Regions from separate parts of the Homo sapiens genome. Here region 1 is linked to region 2. The links are contacts of gene promoters, found by promoter capture Hi-C in blood cells and fetal thymus (Javierre and others, 2016). All regions are on one chromosome and are shown on one strand. The core of a region is centred on a gene start or on the middle of the fragment in contact, and the rest is flanking DNA. Distances in the headings are between cores, read along the strand shown. Region 1 overlaps NABP1 (nucleic acid binding protein 1). Region 2 holds the start of STAT4 (signal transducer and activator of transcription 4).

Region 1 (3,439 bases), core at 230-2,729, 530 kb after region 2:
GATGTTTTTGTGTCCTTGATTTTTGATGTGATTTTTTTTTCAGCACTAAAGAAGAATTTAAATACAAAATAGAATGTTATATATCTTGTAGACAGTCAAATATTTGATGTTTTATGGGACATAATCATTTGGGAAGTTTTTGTTGTAAATGAAGAGTTAGTTTGTTGCTATTAATTTGTTTGACACATAAGTTCATTCCTAAAAGTTAGAGATGTTACATAAAGAAGGGTTGAGGACTTTATTTCAGAAGTCATTTAATTTTTTCTTTATTTTCTTTCAGATTTTGTATGGTTTATTCAGAAGTGCCAAATTTCAGTGAACCCAACCCAGATTATCGAGGACAGCAGAACAAAGGGGTAATTGTGTAGTATACTTTTATGATTAGGCTAATTTTGACTGTGTTATAATTCTATGATTAGGCTAGCCCTGTTGATACTTAGTATAAAGAAGATAATTTTTAAAAGGATACTTAATTTTTATTGTATGTTTTGTGAGGATATGTATCTGAGGTGTCATCTACTAGATATATGTGCCATTTTGCACTTTGTGGTGTGCTGAGTAATTATCAGGAAATAGGATGTAACAGAGCTCTGAAAGGTTTGGGAAACGTTTCTTAACATTATAACCTTTAATGACCTAGGAAAAATCTTTAAAAAATTTGTTAATTAAAAAAAAAAAAAAAGCCAAACCCAAAACTTTAAAAAAGAAAGGATATAATAATGTTGTAATAATATAATTGTGTTTTTATTCTCGTTTGGTTAAATTAAAAACTTTTTTTTAGGCACAGAGTGAACAGAAGAATAATTCCATGAATAGTAATATGGGTACAGGTACATTTGGACCAGTGGGTAAGATTTTGTTTGTGTGTTTCATTTGTGATCAGGTATAAGAATGAAGAGAGCTGTAAAGATTCACGTGAAAAGCAACGTCTTTAGGCATAAATTAGTGATAAAGGTGAACTACCAGTAAACAGGGAATCCCCAAAGGGCTGATTTTCTAGAAAGTTGATAAACTTAAGCCAGTTTATTGAGAATTCTAAGTTTTTGTGATGTCCGTGAAGAGATACCATGCTATTTTTTTTTTATTGATTCCTATAAAATTTCTATAATCTAGTGATTACTTATAGTAGATGCAGAATTACTGGTTATTTTGGTGCACTGAAAGCGTTTTATCTTTAGAGTCATAGTTCACCTTAATTTTTCACATACAAGTAGCTGCTGCTTTAAAAGATGAGCTGAGCCGTTTAAAGGCTAGTGACCCTCAGATGTCATTTAACATGACCCCCAGACATCATGTTCATGATCCTTGTAGCTCTGTTAAAGGTCTTCTGAAGTCTTTTTTCTTAAATATATGAGGAAAAGTCAGTCTTTTGTGATTAGAGTTCATTAGGATGGCTCATGTTTTGGTTTTGTTTTGTTTTTGAGACAGGGTCTTACGCTGTTGCCCAGACTGGAGTGCAGTGGCGTGATCTTGGCTCATCGCAACCTCCACCTCGCAGGCTCAAGTGATTCTCCTGCCTCAGCCTCCCAAGTAGCTGGGATTACAGATGTGCACCACTACCACCCAGCTAATTTTTATATTTTTAATAGAGATGGGATTTCACCATATGGGCCAGGCTAGTCTCGAACTCCTGACCTCAAATGATCCACCTGCCTCGGCGTCCTAAAGTGCTGGGATTACATACAGGCGTGAGCCACTGAACCTGGCCAGCTCATGTTTTATTTGACTCGAAGGCTACATGTCTTGGCATTGCTGATCACATTGTGGGAAACGCTGCCTTTGCCTTTAAAAAGTTAGAATAACATTGTCTGTTTTGAGATATTAATCATATTTGAGCCAAATTCCAATATTCACTATTTTGCCCTTTCTTTTTCTTTTATAGTGTAGGCAATGCATTTTTTTACTCTATTAATTTCTAATTTTGATGCCCAAGTTGGCTTTTTTCTCTCTATTAATACAGCATCAAGTTAGCATATTTATAGCAATACATTTGGAAAAACTTAGAGCCCACATTGTTTTTTTTTTCTGTATAAAAATAAAAGTGTGTGCTTTAATATTTTTAAGCATTAATAACATGTTGGCACTTAAGATAGTTCTACTTCTATAGACTACCTCTGAAAATAGTGATGAATTTTTGTATTCTTTTTTAGGAAATGGTGTTCACACTGGCCCTGAATCAAGGGAACACCAGTTTTCACATGCTGGCAGAAGCAATGGCCGGGGACTTATAAATCCACAACTACAAGGAACAGCTAGTAATCAAACAGTGATGACCACAATAAGTAATGGCAGGGACCCTCGGAGAGCCTTTAAAAGATGACCTATGCTAAATACTCATGTGTAGTTTTTATACTACATGCCCTACTTGAACACTTATTGCACTTTTATTTATTGTTAACTGTGAAAAGTACGTCCTTTATTGGGTTTCCTTTTATATTCTTGGTTTGTTAAGAAGAATGGTTTGTTTTTATAGCAAAACTGTTAAGCTGCTCGAGTCTCCTGTTGAAGAATGGGAACACTGAAAAGTAGGGGCATTTATTTTTAGAGTAAAAAGATTATTGGATAGCCTTTAAAAAACCTGCACCCATTTCATGGGTGAGTTACTTAAGACATCAGCTTTATAGCCTCTATGAGTCTATCTTCTGTATAAGTTTTGTAATATTTAACATAAGGCTTAATGGGAGATGTTCTTTTGTCTTGTATTCAGATATTGCCAACTAAAGCAATAACCATCAAAAAACACAAGAACTTGTCAATGCTAGCAGTAATTTTTGAGTGTTTGTGGCTCTCGGAATGATTGACTTCGTTCAGTGACTACTATTAAGATTTTCCAAGGACTGACTCATCCCAAATTTTTGTTGTATTACCAAAAAAACAGATTCCTTATCAGAATTTGGAATAGAATGTGATCTCTATTGCAACAAGTAATTTTAAAAGAAAGCTACATTTATTTTAGAGTAGTGCTCCTAACATGTATTATCAACTTTGTGGATTACATTGGAGGAAAATTTAAAACTGGGGCCTTGAATATTTATTTTTTGAAACTACCATGTTAAATACTGAAGTATAATTTGGGGGAGTTATAAAGTTATGATAAACATTCATCTGATTATTTTAAACAATAGTTGTGGTAGATAAACATACTGGAGGTGAGTCAAATTGAATTCATATAGTAACATGCAGTCTGAAGTCCTAGTTACTTAATAGGTACTCAGCCTGGAGTGAAAATCCTGGGTACTGACTTTGAGAGGAGTGAGTGTGCATGTTGTCAAAGTTTCTGAACACAGTTCACATAGCCTTATTAGCAAAAGTTTTAAGAAATGGCTCTATCAAAGAAGCAATTGCAGCTTTATTCAGAAATATAAAAGTGGAATTTATGTACATGTCATAAGTGGTACCCACTTCCCCTTTTTACTGTAGGGTGGATAACTCTTAGGAT
Region 2 (3,815 bases), core at 761-3,260:
CATAAAAGAAAAGTACGCATTTCCCCCTTGTAACCCCACTCTGGCCAATTTAGAAGCTGTAGACATATTTCCTAACTCAGGAAAATTAGTATGACGCTGCCTCCTTGAAATTACAGCATTTTATGTTTTCCAAAGTCAAATTTTTGGTTGTTTTCTCAGCAATTCTAAGTCAAGTAAAAACACCAAACCCCCTTTTACATGATTAATCACCATAACATTTCAACATATCTCATAGATAGGCTAAGGTTTCCTTTTGCCTATAGAACACCAGGGTAATTTCATATATTTCATATACATATTCTTTGGGTTTTAAGTAGAATCATTTTGAGCACCTTTTCCCTGAGCTCCTGGTAAATGACTTAAAATTTATAAAAAAACGTGTTGCCAATGTTTTGCTAAAGAGAAAGCAAGTGGGAAAAGAAGTAATGTTTTATTTGCATATCATTTTATATTTATGAAAACCTTTACACTTTACAATTCTAGGCATATTGTAAATGCTCAATCAATGCTTGTTAAATGAAGAATGAGTGGCACTCCTGACATTGCTATGAATATGGTAGGTGGATATAAGTAGTATGTCAACTTTAAAAAGGAAAAACTTGAAGATCAAATAGGCGAAATGACGCCTGCCTAATGTGTGAGGCTTCTAAGGGACAACCTGAGGTTTCCTGAGTCTGAACCATTTGTTTTTCCAGATATCGGATGTATATATATTCCATCGGATGTGTATATATTCCACACAAAATTGGAACATTTGTTCTCATGCTACTATCAACATTGTCCTATCTATCAATTTATTTTAGTTAATGACAACAGAGAACATGAGTTGAAAATAGCATTACAGTTTTTCATCATACTATTGTTAAACCCCCGCTATGATTTGGATGAAAAATCTATTTTCTAACTAAAACTTACAGGTAGATGGGAGGAATAAGTTCTAGTGCTGTAACACTAGGATGAATATGGTTAACAATAACTTAGTGTATATTTTCAAAAAGCTAAGAGGATTTTGAATGTTCACAACACAAAGTAATGATAAATGTTTGAGGTGATGGATATGCTGAATATCCTTTGATCATAACACATTGTTCATATTTATTGAAATATCACTGTATATTCCATAAATATTTACAATTGTGTGTCAAATGAAAATAAAAGGAAAATTAAAAAAAATAAAAATAAACACCGAAAAAAATCACTACTAAGATCTGAGTCTTTCGGAGAGCTGAATTCAAAGCTGAAAAAAGGAAGAAGAAGGAATACATAGTCCTAGGACATTTTCTATTGCAGCCTCTGGGAACGCCTTTAGACATCCTTCAGCAGGTTTCTTTGCTTTCACTCTCTAGGGGCTACTTCTTTCTCATGAAAACTGTGACGTTGCTTCTGAAAACTCAGTGCCTGTCTGTCCTTTTTGCGTGCATTTCCTAGAAGATCCCACTAAAGGGGCATTTTGTCCCACCGTCTGTGAGCTGGTGGTGCCGCTTTGGCTCTGTGGCCTGTAGCTTGCAAAAGGAGATGACCTGCCCTAAAATGTCACTCGCGCCCATCAAAGCCACAGTCACCGGCTGCCGTAGCTGCAAGCTTTTTTCTGAAATCCAGGTACGCTAATCTAAAGTCAGACATCACAGCTCTAGAGAAGCTGGCTAAGAAAGTGAAGAGGGGCTCACTTTCAGCCTCCGCGAGGACACACCTCCGCAGCCGCCGCAGCTCCCCTGGCCCCCGCAGGGAGATTCGCCCGGGCACCGTGGCGCGGGCCTGCGGAGCGGTTTCCGCGGAGAACCCGTGCCAGGGCGCATCTGTGGGTCGTGGAGTCGGGCGCTTCCTTCTATAATAAGCCTCCTCAGGAAGGTTAAAATGAAGCAATTGTCAAAACGCCAAGGGAAAGCAAAGCTTCAGAGTATCCTGCATAATAAGCATGTCCTCCTTACAAGAGGCAGCCAGAAGGTGTGGTCTGGCCACTTACCTAGCGCTCTCTCAGCACAGGTCCCAGGCAGTGCTCAAGTCCAAAGTCAGAAGCGCCCCTCACAGTCCCTAGGAGAAAGCCGCTGACGCCATCATCAGTAGGGGATTTGCATTTCTCCTCCCACTTGAGGCTTTCCTGTGCGTCAGTGTTCGAGTCTCTGGGACTTTACTTGGGTCAGTTCCCACCCACTCTATTCTAGAAATGCTAACACGCAGAAACTGCCAGGCTGGAGCCCCTTCACCGGGCGTCCTCTTCCCTCTTATCCCTCCCAGCGGCTCTCGCAACTGCAGGTGGCTCAGCAGTGCCAGGAAAAAGGGGAGGGGCGGGGCATACATTTTCTTCAGTGGTTTCCTTAGACAATCTGAGATCCTCTGCAGAGTTACTTACCTGGAGCCCAGTTCTTCAGCTTCCTCTCTCCCTAGTATAAGGCTCCACTCAGCCTGGTGAACCACCCCTGGGATGGAAGGGATGGGTAGCCAGGATCAAAACACCAAACTCATAGACCTTACTGGGCTCCAATTCCAGCGGGGTCCGCTCACTCCGACGAGGGTGACCTGACCCAGAGGGTTGGGCCAAGTCCTGGGTAGGCCACCAGTGCTTGCCCTTCCTGACCTAGCCTCCTCCTACTCTCCTTGAGTAGCCTTGCCCCTGGTTGCTACGGTGCGTTCTTCTCCCTTTGTGACATCAGCCTGTTCTAGAATCACAGAGTTGGAGGAAGTCTTGGTCCCATCTAATGCTAAATCCTCTTTCATATCTGAAGAGACCCAGTGAGGTGACCAAGAGGACTCAATAAGTTAGCCACGGAGCCCGATAATAGCCCAGGTGTTTCCCTTCCCACTTCAGTGGTCTTTTCATTTCATCTCCTTGTAGTTAGCTCTTAACCCCTTGATTCACAGTAGGGGTTCAATAAAATAAAGAGAAGTCCAGGCGTGTGGCTCACACCTGTAATCCTAGCACTTTGGGAGGCTGAAGTGGAAGGACTCCTTGAGCCCAGGAGTTTGAGACCAGCCCAGGCAACACAGTAAAATCCCACCGTATATTAAAAAATCAATAAAAATGTTTAAGAAAGTAAAAATAGTAAAACAAAGACAAAAATAAAGACAGACAGACAGACTGAAAGAAAGGTAGAAAGTGTCACTCAATTTGGTTATACACATGCTTAGAGCAATATACCAAGGTGAAAGGCCTGCCTCCCTCTTCCCTGACGGGTTTCACACAGGTACACCCTCTGGATTCTTCTCTCCCAGGTGACATTATCATGTGCTTAAACTTACCACCCACCCCCAAATAGGTCAATCAATCCAAAGTCACACTTTCCATATCACTGTAAATTTCCTGGTTAGGTAGGCCTGGTCCCCACTGCTTGTTGAGCAGGCAGTTTCCAGGAGCTTATGCTGCTCTGACCCTACATAAGAAAGTGCCAATTTCAGGCTATTCCATAAGCTACTAAGCAAAGTCTGATTTTCTTCTGGAGAAGCTGTCACTGCCTATAGGAAAAAAATCCAAATTCTTGGCAGTTTAAGTTCTGTACAGTTTGGTCCCAACCTATCCAGGAAACTTTTCTCCCCTATAAGAGCCCATGATGTGACCCAAGCAGTCACCTCAGCTGCCCAGATTAACCTCATATTTCACTACCGAGGCTTTCTTCAACTGGATATTCCTCCCTGAGCCTACCTACTTAGTGAAATCCTATAGTTCTCAGTGAAGACTTCCCGATGACCTGAACCCACAGCAATGTTTCCCTGCTCCAAATTCTTCATACTTCCTGTCCAAACCAGCGCTCTCCAAGAGAAATAAAATGTAAGCCACATATGTAATTGTAAATTTTCTCATAGCCATATTAAAAAGGAAA

Evidence for each region. Contacts are between HindIII fragments. The CHiCAGO score rates a contact against its expected background, and 5 or more counts as called.
Region 1: a contact is called between a fragment that was not itself captured here and the fragment with the promoter of STAT4 in region 2, in 2 of 17 cell types (total CD8 T cells and naive CD8 T cells). The highest score is 6.8, in total CD8 T cells.

Annotation. Positions count from the first base shown.
Region 1 is chr2:191,683,449-191,686,887 of GRCh38, forward strand. NABP1 (nucleic acid binding protein 1) reads left to right here. Exons shown (of 6, transcript NM_001031716.5): 4 at 281-356; 5 at 782-848; 6 at 2,151-3,439. The coding sequence ends at 2,320. Among named protein-coding and RNA genes, the nearest start is that of NABP1, 7.0 kb to the left of the region's middle. The HindIII fragment of the contact is 6,591 bases long and covers 1-3,439 here.
Region 2 is chr2:191,148,984-191,152,798 of GRCh38, forward strand. STAT4 (signal transducer and activator of transcription 4) reads right to left here and starts at 2,011. Exons shown (of 24, transcript NM_003151.4): 1 at 1,964-2,011. RefSeq lists a silencer at 1,651-1,700 and enhancers at 2,171-2,220, 2,351-2,430. The HindIII fragment of the contact is 5,548 bases long and covers 1,889-3,815 here.